4 separate regions of the Homo sapiens genome follow, and regions 1, 2 and 4 are each linked to region 3. Evidence: promoter capture Hi-C in 16 types of primary human blood cells and fetal thymus (Javierre and others, 2016). All regions are on one chromosome and are shown on one strand. The core of a region is centred on a gene start or on the middle of the fragment in contact, and the rest is flanking DNA. Distances in the headings are between cores, read along the strand shown.

Evidence for each region. The method cuts DNA at HindIII sites, captures the fragments that hold promoters and counts their contacts. A CHiCAGO score of 5 or more calls a contact.
Region 1: a fragment that was not itself captured here is called in contact with the fragment with the promoter of CCDC91 in region 3 in 1 of 17 cell types (naive B cells); the score reaches 7.0 in naive B cells.
Region 2: a contact is called between a fragment that was not itself captured here and the fragment with the promoter of CCDC91 in region 3, in 2 of 17 cell types (total B cells and fetal thymus). The highest score is 7.0, in total B cells.
Region 4: a contact is called between a fragment that was not itself captured here and the fragment with the promoter of CCDC91 in region 3, in 3 of 17 cell types (naive B cells, fetal thymus and non-activated CD4 T cells). The highest score is 6.5, in naive B cells.

The regions. Positions count from the first base shown.
Region 1 is chr12:21,505,095-21,508,299 of GRCh38, reverse strand. GOLT1B (golgi transport 1B) reads right to left here. Exons shown (of 5, transcript NM_016072.5): 2 at 1,324-1,415. Among named protein-coding and RNA genes, the nearest start is that of GOLT1B, 4.9 kb to the right of the region's middle. The HindIII fragment of the contact is 1,626 bases long and covers 641-2,266 here.
Region 2 is chr12:22,627,888-22,631,319 of GRCh38, reverse strand. All of the region lies in intron 1 of ETNK1 (ethanolamine kinase 1), which reads right to left. Among named protein-coding and RNA genes, the nearest start is that of ETNK1, 4.4 kb to the right of the region's middle. The HindIII fragment of the contact is 1,989 bases long and covers 867-2,855 here.
Region 3 is chr12:28,188,762-28,191,945 of GRCh38, reverse strand. It overlaps CCDC91 (coiled-coil domain containing 91), which reads right to left and starts at 1,490. Exons shown (of 13, transcript NM_018318.5): 1 at 1,305-1,490. It overlaps LOC729291 (a long non-coding RNA gene), which reads left to right and starts at 1,208. Exons shown (of 1, transcript NR_148936.1): 1 at 1,208-3,184. RefSeq lists silencers at 36-330, 1,014-1,443, 1,474-1,523. The HindIII fragment of the contact is 1,439 bases long and covers 690-2,128 here.
Region 4 is chr12:22,546,556-22,549,952 of GRCh38, reverse strand. No RefSeq gene overlaps it. Among named protein-coding and RNA genes, the nearest start is that of C2CD5, 3.7 kb to the right of the region's middle. The HindIII fragment of the contact is 951 bases long and covers 1,622-2,572 here.

The DNA of each region.
Region 1 (3,205 bases), core at 204-2,703, 6.7 Mb after region 3:
AAAAAAGAAGCACATTTGTTTGGCTTTTAATGTGGGCAACTGGCCAGACAGAACTGTAATGTACAACCAAGCAGCAGAACCAAGGAGTGGGTTATGCATTTTAAAGTTGTAGCTTTGTTCCACTTGTCTCATTCCTCTTCTATCTTGATTAAATGGAGAAAAAGAGAAACAAAGAAAGATTAGACGTTACCAAGGGGCATCTGTGTCTGCAGTAGTTTTCCTAGTTTTAGCTGGATGAGGAAGGCTTAGTCAAGCAGATGAGTTGGCAAGGCATAAAGAGGAAAGCTGCCCATAAATATGTCACCCAAGGGTATTCCTCTTGGTTCTGAAATATTCATCATAGGCTACAGGAGTTTCTATGGATGGGAGAAATATTGACATGGCTAAGTTGATAGCAGAAGAAACAACGTGAAGCCAAGAAGATTCTAGTTTTATAAATTCTAGAATATCTGGTGGCAGCAGAAATAAAAATACAACCATGTGTTTTCAAATATTTTGAATGTATTCTGTGGACAAGAAATGGTGATGGATTAAGAGCTTGCTTTCCCCAGGTTTTCTTTCCAAATACTTGCCCTCCCCATTAACATTCTTTAGTGAAAAATATTTCGCACAAATACATATTAAGCCTAATGGTTAAGCTTCATATTCTAGGATACTAATGCTATTATCATTTATTAAGACATCAATTTTGAACAATTTTGCTATTCTTTATCTTTTCCCATTTCCAGTTAAAAGCCCAAATATATATGTGTGTGTGTATATATATATATACACACACACACACATACAGTGTCTTCACTACCTTAGAAGGGTTATTATTTATTTCTGGATCATAACCTCCACACATGAATAGCATAGTACACATTCCAAATAAACAACATAGATCCCTTTCTAAGCAAGTCAACCATTAACATAGAAATATATATTTTTAAAAAGGTTAAAAAAATCTATCTTATGCAGCTGAATCAAATGTGAAGTCTTGGATGTTTAAAGTAAAAATACTTTAGTGATTTATCAAGACATGAAACTATCAAGTCATCTATTTTGAACTCCTATTTAGAGGCAGCCTTCATTTAATCTATTGTAAATCTCATGACAAACACTTAACAGAGTAGTTATGGAATTAGAAAACCTCATTAAGTGTTTACCTTTTATTTAAACAGAAAGCTGACAGGTTTCATTCCTGATGGAAATAGAGAATGTAACAGGAATTACTTATGAGTAATAGTGAATTATTTTCCCCAAATTTAATAGCAGATAATAATTCATTCGTAGTTAAAATTTCCTTATAAATTTAGTTAAAATATATATTTAAAAACTCACATTTCCAATAGCCAGTAGTGCTTTGTCAAAAAAGAGAATCATTCCAAAGAACAGGAAAAACACTCCAAATCCTGTTAATCCCATTCCAATTTCTGCAATATAAGGTATATGGTTAAGGGTAGAGAAAAATTAAAGTCACATTAACATCCCTGTAAACTAAGAAAATTTTCCAGTTTTCCTTTCATAGGTATAAGAAAACAGGTACCCAACATTGCAGGTTAACTTCATAATGACATTTATTTAGCTCTTATAACAAATTAATTATCAGCAAATTATTTCAAAATTTAAAACATGAATGAAAATTTCTAAGCCTTATATGGGAGATAGCATTTCTCAGACATAGCTATAATAAAAAAGATAAATCGGGATTCTAAACCTTTGGTTTTAATATGTAATTTGTTTTTTTCCTCCTGAAAAGCTCTCTCGCATCAGACATAAATGTATAGGTTTCCTTAATTACTTATCTCCTTTCACATTCTATAATTATTATTTAAATGCACAATATCTGTAGTTCTTTCTTCCTCTTAAAATTGATTCCTTCTTTACTGCATTAGAAATGTTATGGTAGGTCCGCACAATCAATATCCTTTATCCAATTATATACTGCTTGTCACAATGGCAACAAGAAATATTTCGAAAATCATGGTACCAGTATTCTCAAAACCAAATTTTCAGAAGGTCAGGCATCACTTTTAATTTCTTGATTACTTATTATGGACTTATCTACAAATTTACCTAAACTATAAATCTACTTAAATATTTGGTCTAGAGTCCTAAAATCACCTCTCCGAAGTTTCAAAGAATACTGTTTTACCTAATATTAATATTCTAGGTTTTTCATGTTTCATTAGTTTCATTAAAAAACAAAGAATTGTTGATCAACTGCCAGATGCAAGGAACTGTTCCAGGTACTGAATATACAGTGGTAGACGAGGTGTAAGCTTTAAAGTCTATGTTTATCTTGTATATAAAATTAATACTTTTATTGACTGTGCATTCTCTAGGTCTTATTTTTTTAGTATGAAAAGTCTTAACTTCTAAGGTGACAGATGTACTCTTCTATTAATGTTATAAAGCACAATTCACTAAGTTACCTCCTTGATCATTTTAGTTTTGATTCTAGAAAATAGCCATTAATCCGTAGTTTAGTTAGAAGCACAATCTGCATACAGATGAGTCAGAGTAGAAGCCACCGTATTTTTAGAAGCACAATTTAAAATACCCTATCACTGATTTCTGATCTATTGCTTAACTTTTTTGCCTCAGCTCCAGAAAGCTAAAATCTAGGTCACAGCTACTTAAAAAACTCTTAAGTCATATAAAATGTTCTGATAACTTGAAAACTTTTATCAACTTTAGCTTTTTCTACATTCCCCACCTGCTCAATTTCCTGATAACTAGTGTCTTCCATTGCAGACACCTTTTGTTCCCAAAGTTAGTCTAAAATAATTCAGGTACCTGGTCTATAAATACACCAGTTAAGTGAATTCAACACACATTCCTATGAAAATTTGAGGCTGATACTTTCATGATCAAAGGCCTTAAGAGAATTTACCAAATTAACTATTTGGATAGTGGACATAATTTCATAGAGGAAAATATGGACAAAAGAGCAAGTAAAATTCTATTAAATAACTATTTAGTAGTTAGGATTAAACATCGGCAGCTTTGTTAGTTGAAGATGACTAATTTCTATCATTTCACAAATAACCTTGATGATTACATAAAAATTCTGAGATGTTTTTAGAAAGGAAGGTATATGGAAAGACACCTACTATGTACTGAGAATTTACCACGAATTAGGCCTTATGAAGTGCTTCACATACCTTATATATAACTTAATACTTCCAATACTACTGGAATGCAGGTATAATTACATCTT
Region 2 (3,432 bases), core at 612-3,111, 5.6 Mb after region 3:
GCCTGTAATCCCAGCTACTCTGGAGGCTGAGGCAGGAGAATCGCTTGAACCTGGGAGGCAGAGGTTGCGGTGAGCCGAGATCACGCCATTGCACTCCAGCCTGGGCAACAAGAGCGAAACTCCATCTCAAAAAAAAAAAAAAGAGTACTTACCTTACTACTTGCAAGGCTCTGTCTGATGTAACCTCTACCATAACTTATTCTAACTCATCTTTTTAAACTGTAATGGTCTCAAGACACTATATTGATTTGGCATCCTATTAATGTATGGTAACCACTAGTTTCAAAACCAATGTCCTGAGTGATCATTATTTCCCAATTTAAAACATTTCCCTCAAACAACCCTTCTCTACATTGTTGCCTGTCACTTCTCTAATACATGATATAATTTACCTGCTTAAAAATATCCAGGCCAGGTGCGGTGGCTCATGCCTGTAATCCCAGTATTTTGGGAGGCCGAGGTGGGTGGATCACTTGAGGTCAGGCATTCGAGACCAGCCTGGCCAACATGGTGAAACCCCGACTCTACTAAAAATACAAAAATTAGCTGAGCATGGTGGCGCACATCTGTAATCCAAGCTACTTGGGTGGCTGAGGCACGAGAATCACTTGAACCTGGGAAACGGAGGTTGCAGTGAGCTGAGATCACACCACTGCACTCCAGCCTGGGCTACAGCGAGACTCTGTCTCAAAAAAAATAAAATAAAATAAAATAAAATACAAAAAGAAAAATATCCAGTGGCTTCCCATGATGTCCTAAATGATGAGTAAGCTACTCAAAGTCTAGCTTCATTGCCTTTGTGAGATAGTTTTCCTTGCTCAGAAATGTTTCCCTTTTCAATCTGATCTCATCTACCCTTCAAAGCTTAGCTCAGGTACCCCCACCTCTATGAAGCCTTCTGTCCTACGTTCTTCTATGCCTACCTTGTGCTACAGTTAGTTGTACAAGGACTCTTACTGAAAACTAGCATTACAGCTAGTACAAAAAACACATGTCAGAATTACTGAATTTTAGGAGCTCACAATTCTCTCAGTTGGGATGGGAGAATTGGAAATGAGAGGTGGAAGAACGTAGTACCAAAACATGCGATGCGTAATTGTAGGTATTTCATTGAATTCTCATGACTACTTTCCAAGGTAATACCATTTTATAGAGACTTTAAAACTTGCCAAAGGTTATAAATGGCTGGAAATAATATTCAAAAACCATCCTCTTTCCACATTATGCTCAGTCCCCAAAAAGATGTGACGCAGTTTGTGTAGTCCAAGTTACATGGCTATTATACAGGAAAACAAACTAGCACTTTAGGCTCCTGTCTTCATAGTCACATCTTAATAAAATACATGGGAGCCTAACAAATATTTCATGTTTTTGATGGGCGTCTATTAAACATTATATACTTTATTATTCTAAAATGCTGAAGACAGGGAGGGAATAGGAAACAGAAAACTGGATGTAATCACTAACATTAAAAGTTACACTGAATATAAACCATGACTCCTTATTTGTATCTACAGGACTCAAGATTTCCTATAATCTTAGGGAAAGTAAACTAATATATTGTTTACTTTTTTAATATATTAAAAAATTAGCCGTAACTTACTACATTAGCTTACCTAAGACTTTTCAGAAGCTACTGCTTAAAGGAACAAACTCATCTTTTTAAAAACAGAAAAGAAAATCAATTATTATATCAGAACACTAGTGGAGACATAACTTAACACAGCAATTGTATAGATCTGGCTTTTTCTTCTTCCTTTAAGGCAAAGACCAATATAAAATATCAACTATCAATATTAAGAGGAGTTACAGGTTTTTAATAGATTATTTAGGTAACTACCTCCAACACTGTTAGAAAGAGGAAGGATATGAAAACTGCTGTGTAGCTACACAACCTAACACAAAGATTAATTTCCATGATAGAATACATATGCTTAAAAAAATGATGAAAAGATTTTTTAAAATATGCATTCAATAACAGGCAAAAACCTGTAGTAAAGCAGAAAGAACAGTACATTTTTTAAACTTCTTGGGTAATCTTTGCATGTGAACTAAATTTGAATGTTCATTCCATAAACATTACGTTGTTATAATTTTCTTATTTGTCTTCCCCATCGGACTAGGAATTTCAAAGAGCAAATATTTGTTTTTTGATTCAAGTATCCAATATATAGTAGGTGCTCAGCAGCAATAATAATTATCATGAAAGACAGCATTTATTTTACCCTCACAATAACCCATTGAGGTAGGGACAACTACTGGATCAATTTTACAGCTCAGGATACTGAGACAGGAAGTTTAATGATTTGACCAGAGTAACAAAGCTAGTAAAGTATAGAATCTGGACTCAAAACTAGCACTGTGTTCAAACCCCATGCTCTTGAGCACTGTAACACACTGTTATTGAAAAGCTAAGTTGCTATAAGGTACCATATAGCAAGCAATCTCATTTAGACCCAACAAAGGAATAAATATATTAGTTTTGTAATGTTAAATAATAATTACGGTATTAATTCCTACCTATGAAGCCTTTGCCATTATCTACTATAAGTCCCAAGTAATGGAAAAATTCATAGTGACAAGTTAGTGAGAAAAACAACGTTGCTTAATACTGCAAACAGAAAGACCCTGAGACAACATAACTGGAATATTCCAAACACTAATTCATCAGCTCTTCAGAAAATGAAAAACAATTTTAAGAGTCCGTTGAGAATTATTATGGACCTGAGATCTGACTTGATTCTTTATTCCTTTATACGATGACTCTCCAAAGAAAAGTATAAAAATTAAAAATCAAAATCTTCAAATAAGTTAAACAGTTGTTACACAACAAAAGTAACTCGTGAAGGAAAGCTTAAGTAATCCCTTTTTCCTAAAATGGTGTCACATATGAAAAAAGTAATGCAAATTTATGTTCAAGGGAACTTTAAAGCAGAATCTTTTTATGAGCCAAAGCTTTTAAGAAATTAATTTTATACAGAAGCACCTTCCCTGCCTAAATCATAATATACAAACAAAACTCTTGGTCATAGAACAATAATTCATAAGATGGTTTATCATCTCAGATCTGCCATTTGTAAACGGCAAATTCAGTTTCATTAACTATATGATACATATTAACAGTACCGTCTACATCTACCTCACAGGATAGTTGGGAGAATGCATGTGAAAGTGCTTTATAAACAGTAAAGGATTATTAAATACAAAGCACTGTGGCTGTATTGTTGTTTTAGATTTACTCTGCCTATTCTGCTACTATACTCCGAAAACCTCACCATCTCCTTTATAATTTATTCTTTTAATCTAGTAAGAACAGGAATTCTGTCTAAAATGAGATATATTTACTCCATGTACCCACAAATTCTGAGCAAAGACTGGGCCTTCTATCATTTTGACTCTAGTAAGTCTTTTTTAGCTTGTTTTTTTCTTTTT
Region 3 (3,184 bases), core at 241-2,740:
TCATAAGATTTCCCAGCCCACAGAACACCCTCCTAGGCAGCCTGGAGGATACCAAACTTCGTAACCAGGGCAATTCTCTACCACACAGTTTACTGGTTAGCCAACACCATGCAGGTGCACTCTGCCTGGCATGACCCTTACTACATTTACCTAATAGGTACAGACAGTATAACCAATCCCCTCAACGCAATAGAAATTGTAGCAGAGGGCAATCAGGTGATCATTAAGTGTAGAACTCTCCGACAGCAGGGAACACAACAGCGAATTTGTTGTCAGTCCCTGTCACCCCACCCAACTAAATATTGTGGGGGGGGGAAGGGTTGCCTTAAATTGTGAAGTAAAATGTCAGCCCACTCCAATAACTCCACCACGCAACATGCAAACTGCTTCCAAAAACCATCATCCAACTCCCACCCGGATTAATATTTGGAGAGAAAGGTGGCATCAGTATCCGCACAGCTGAGAGGGGAGGGAAGGAAAGAGTCAGAATTCATAAGGGGCCGCTGAGTCACCTAAAATTGTGGCCAAGACTTTACCCTCCAGGAAATCGAGCTCTGCCCCAACTCTCATCAAGGAAGCAAGTGAGAGTAGCAGCAGCAACATCATCCTACCAAAAAAACACCAGCGCAGCTTTTAATAGAGTTCCACTCCTTAAAGTGAAGCCAAAAATAGGTTTCATGTCCAAAGCTTTCCTCCGCAGTAGGCGACACGCGCAGATGGAGAAAATATCTTTATTGTTGGGAAAGGGAGGCGTGCTAACGGGGACGAAGGATACCTCACCACTTGGCAAAGTTACTGGCTCCTGCCTTGACCCTGAAATGCCACTTTTATTGCAACATGTGGCCCAAGAAACTCTAAGGAAATGTGGCTGGCAGACGCTGTAGAGCTTTTACCCCAATGTACTTGGCAAAGTAAAAGGGGATACATAAACCAGGCGCGTTCTGTGTAATCTAAGCAAGAATCAAGGTCTCCGTTCGGTAGGCGCTTCGGTGACACAATAATCACGTGTTCGTGGGCGTAGACTTTCGAAAACACTCGATTCTGGGACGTGCAGATACCGGTACCCACCGGCGAGCGCAGGAACGAGTGGGCACTCCCACCCCCGGGAGCTGGCTCCGTTCCCGCAGGAGGTTGGTCACGCCCCCTGACTCCTGGTCGCTGCGACAGCCAAGGGCGAGGCCGCAGCAGGCGGGCTGCAGGCGGCGGAAGCTCGTCCGCGCTCCTCCCCCGGTGGGGCGCTCTCCGCTCGCCTCGCGCGGCCCCGACCCCAAGACCCAGGCCCCGGAAGGCGAGCGTTCACTTACCTGCTCCCCTCTCTCGCTCTCCGCTGCCGCCGCTGCGCCGCTCACCCACGCTGCCCGGTGAGCCACCCCCAGCACACAGACCCCTACGCGTACACCCGAGGCACGGCCCCAGGCCCTTGAGGGGAGACCGCGGCCCAGCCACACAGGTTGGGGTAGCCCACGCACCACCCGGCTTCGAACACCTCTGCCCCCGGAAGTTGATTTCCGCCAAGGCCCGCCCAACACAGCGCCCGTCACTCAACGTAAACACGCGCGTCACGTGGCCCCAGGCCGAGGCCCGGGTCGGGGCCCCATGTTCAGAGCCCTGCCACCCCAGCTTGAGCGTGGTCTTTGGAGCGTTGCCCTGTGAAAAGGGGTGACTTTGCCATGCTCCTTCCCAGTCTACCTCCTGTTAGTTACAGTTTCTCATTCCTCTTGAGTAGCAGGCCCTGTTTCTCCACCTAATCCCTGCAAGTAAACCGTCCCCCAAATCAAAATGAGTTCCATCTGGAACTTTGTAGGATTGGTCCTAAGAAGATCCCGCCGAATCTCTTCACCACTTCCTAGCAGAGCACAGTAAAACCGGGGACTAAGCAAAGTGGCTGACATGTAGTAAGTGCTCAAGAAATGGATGTTGACTAGATGCTACCTCTCATCTTTGCCTGTCTGAACTCTCAAGCACCGGATGCAAGTAGACTGAGAGCCTCCGCCAACCAGTAAGATGACTTTGGTCAAAGAATTCTGCTCTAGAGTTACTTTTGTTCTTGTCTTCAACTCCAGATCACAGCAATTCATACGTGCCATCTCTGTTGCAGAGTTTTCTTGCAAAGCCTTTCTTAAAAGCTTTCTGTCAAATAGCTTGTCCTGAAGCAATAGGAAAAGAATAGCGTAATTCACAGATTATTTATTTGAAAGGAAGGAATGATTATATAGATGTCTTTGTCCATTTCAGACTGTCAATAGCGATGAGAGAAACAGTCAACTAGCAGTCCACTCGTGAATGTTTCTTCTGTTTTTGCCATGGAAGGATTTTGAAGAACATTCATTCAACAAATTTTTATTGATTGTATACCACATACCTAGTCCTGGGCCAAGTTTTGACAATTCAAGAGTGAGCAAGGTAACACTCAAGATATTTGTCTTCAAGAAGCTTACAGTCTAGTGAGAAAGAAAGACACTAACCTGGGGACTTTGAGCATAAATCTCTGGAATATTCACATTCCTTGTATAACAAGTATTCTTTCATCCTTGGACACTGGGTTTCTCATCTGTTGAACAAAATTGGCTTAAACCTGTAATCTCTGTTCTGTACTGGAAGTGGAAAATATTAGCAAGGCATCCTGACAAGTCTGCCATAAGTGCTGGCCTAAGTAGTTAATGAGCAGTTTCAGTATTGAGCAAGTCACCTTGACTACATTCTTTTTCCAGCCCACCCCCTTCTTTATGCATACAAAAAACATTTCTATTGTAAGAAATGTAATGCTTTCTTACACATATTTTTTTATCTGTCTACTAGACTACCAAGTCAAGGACCACTTCTCACTTGTATATCCAGCAATCTACTCACTTCTCATTTGTCTTTGTGTATCCAGCAGTCTAGCAAAGTGTCTAGTAGTTAGAAAAAAGGTATTCATAAATATTTCTTAAACTTAGTAAGGTTACCTTTATATTATTTTGTCTCTCATATCTCTTTCTGCTGGAAACCAGATTAGTTTCTGGGAGTTCCTTCCCATTGATGTACTTACATGTTCACTCTGTCCCGATATTCAATACTAAACTGTATTCCATACTAAACAGATTTATAATAAGTAACTAATATTTATTATTAATATTTGCTATGTGCCTGGCATTAGATTAAATATTTTAAATCCCATATATAACTTACCACAATAATTTTACAA
Region 4 (3,397 bases), core at 848-3,347, 5.6 Mb after region 3:
AGCCTGGGCGACCAAGCGAGACTCTGTCTCAAACAAACAAACAAATAAACAAAAAAAGGGAATTGGTGATTAATTTGGTCAGGGTTGAGGAAGAATCAAAGGCAAGGGTCAGTTCAGACTAGAGTTTCCACAAAGCCCTTATGTAGACACAAATGGAAAACCTGCAGGCTTTGCAGTACCAGCATGAATAAGGGGAACTTGTCCTGGTGCTAACACAATAAGGAAGTGTCTGCCTATTTATATCTCAGTACCATGACTCATTGAGTGCATTGATAGGCACTGATAAAAAGCAGTGTGGGCTGGCTGTGGTGGCTCACACCTGTAATCCCAGCACTTTGGGAGGCCAAGCTGGGTGGATCACCTGAGGTCAGGAGTTCGAGATCAGCTTGACCAACATGGTGAAACCCCCATCTCTACTAAAAATACAAAAATAAGCTGGGTGTGGTGGCAGGTGCCTGTAATCCCAGCTACTCGAGAGGCTGAGTCAGGACAATCACTTGAACCTGGGAGGCGGAGGCGGCAGTGAGCAGAGATCACACCATTGCACTCCAGCCTGGGCAACAAGAGCAAAACTCCCAAAAAAAGCAATGTGTTCCACTGCAATAATCTTCCAATTTAGAGAATATTTTACTTGATGCAGTCCTTATGCCCATGGTACATTAAGTATGGTATGGTACCTTATGCCCATGGTACATTAAGATACAAGGGAACTAATAAGATGATGAGTTTACCTAGATGCCTACTTATCTCATTTTTACTCCTTAATCAAAGCAAAAGTGAGCCACATGGTGGCTCACACCTGCAATCCTAGCACTTTGGGAGGATGAGGCAGGCAGATCACTTGAGCCCAAGAGTTCGAGATCAGCCTGGGCAACATGGGGAGACCTCATCTCTACTAAAATATAAAAATTAGCCAGATGTGGTGGTGTGCGCCTGCAGTCCCAGCTATTCAGGAGGCTAAGGTTGGAGGATCACCTGAGCCTGGGAGGTTGAGGCTGTGGTGAACTGTGATCTTGCCACCGCACTGTAGCCTGGGTAACAGAGTGGGACCCTGGCCCAAAGGAAAAAAAAAAATCAAAGCAAAAGTAACTGAACTGAGCCCAAGTTGTCATTTGTATAATTATACTTGTAATCCCAGCCCACTTTCAAACTTAAATCAGTGAGTTTCTGGCTTGAGCAATTGACTATGTAGTTGGCATTGCTGTTTAGTAGAAGACTACCAGGTCTTTTGTTGTTGTTGTTGTCATTCTCGTTGTTGTAGTTATGGGAAAGGTAAAGAAAATCAGGTCAGTTTTGGACATCTTGACTTTTGAGGTCACTTTTGGACATCTTGACTTTTGAGGTCACTTTGATACTCCAAATGGAAATAGTAACTTGGCAGTTGCATATATGGGTCAAGATCCCAGAAGCGAGTTACAGACTAAAGATAACGATTTGAGAGTCCCTGACTAAACAGATGGAAATTAAAATTGTGAGCTTGGATGAGATCACCTAGGGAGACAGTACAGTTGGAAGAGAATAGAGACAAAAACTGAACCTGAGAAAAACACATATTTAATAGTTAAGGACAATGAGTAGGCTGAGAAGACAGATGTATAAACCAGAATAGGTAAGAGAAGCTTGGTTTCTGAATACCAAGAGGAAGATTATTTTAAGGACAGCGTGGTCAACAGCATCAAATGCTACTGAGAGTCACGTAAATAAAAAACTGAAGCCAGGCATGGTGGCACGTGCCTGTAGTCTCAGCAACTTGGGAGCCTGAGGCAGAAGGACTGCATGAACCCAAGGGTTTGAGACCAGTCTGGGCAACACAGCAAGACCCCATCTCAAAAATAAAAACTTAAAACTAAAAAAAGTGTTCATTGCATTTAGCAACCAGAGGTTATTGATGGCATTAGTGAAAGCTGTTTTTGTAGAGTGGTGGTGGCTAAACCCAGATATTAATAGTTTTTGGAGCGCTTAGGAAGTGAGGAGAGGGCACCAAGTACTGACAACCCTTGAGTAATTTAACCTGAAAGAATGGGAAAGATTAACAGGAACATTTTAGGAAGCCAGGAAAGAAGAGCAATCTAAGTAGTAATAGCAAGTGTTAACTGTTAATTTAATTCCACAATAATTTGTTGATCACATGAAGGGCACAGGACAAAGAACTGAGAATTGAGAGATGAGTGAGAAGCAATCCATTCCCTCAGAGTGCTCATGGTTTAGTGGGGGTTGGGGGGGAGAGAGATGGATAAATAATTATTGCATGGAAAGTATAATAACAAATGTATTAGATTTAGTAGTAGCATAGGTGGGAGTGAAGAGCATATTTATTAGGAAGGAGATTAGAGAAGATGTAGAAGTGACTTTTGTAAAAGGCAAAAGATTTATACACTCTAAAGAGAAACCAGAGTATTGACTTTTGAACTGAGTTATGAATTCATAGCTATTTGGTAGGATGACTATGAGAGAGATACTCCAGGAAGAAGGAAAAGTATAGTTTATTAGAAAACTACATGTAATCTTCAAAGACGTGAGTTCTTGGAATCACATTGTCTAGATTTAAAACCTGCCTCTATCATTAGAAGCTTTGTGACCTTGGGTAATCACCAGAGCTTTGAAAAGCCATAATTTTCTCATTTATAAAATGAAGGCTGATAATTCCTACCTCAGGATTTTAGGGAGCCTTAACAGCTGTGAAACGCTGAATTCAGTAGCTGGTGTGCGGCAAACCATCAATACACGTTAATTCTTGTTATTGATAATTTAAAATGCAAAAAGAGTGTCAGGGTATGAAGCTAAACAAGGTAATCAGGAGTCACATCATGGTAGATTTGTCAGAAAGTTAGCACTGTTCCCAGCATTAATGAAAACAAACGAGAACAATTATTAGGAAACAGTTCAACTGAAGTCAGGCTTAAATCTACTAAAAATAGTTTTCAGGAAGCATCTTAATTATAATCTCTTGTTGATGAAGCCTAAGGCAACAAGTACGTACAAGTACCTCAAAGTCTACTAATTAGGAGGCTGAGATTGCTAACCTCTAATTGTGCAATTTGCAACTTTTTACATTTTGGAACACAATGCATTATTTTCCATTAATATTGGTGCTAAACTTCAATTTTCTAATATTTTTTCTTTATACATTTCATATTTTAAAAAATGAGTTGGTAATACGGTAATACTTCGATTTCACCACAAAAACGACTTCAACTCTACCACCCAAAACAACAAAAAACACTGATCATGCCGGGCAAGATGGCTCATGCCTGTAATCCCACCACTTTGTGAGGTCAAGGCAGGAGGATGGCTTAAACCAGGATTGAGACCAGCCTGGGCAATACAGGGAGACTCCATCTCTTCAAAAAATTTAAAAAACTAGCGGTGCATGGTGGTATGTGCTTGTAGTCCCAGG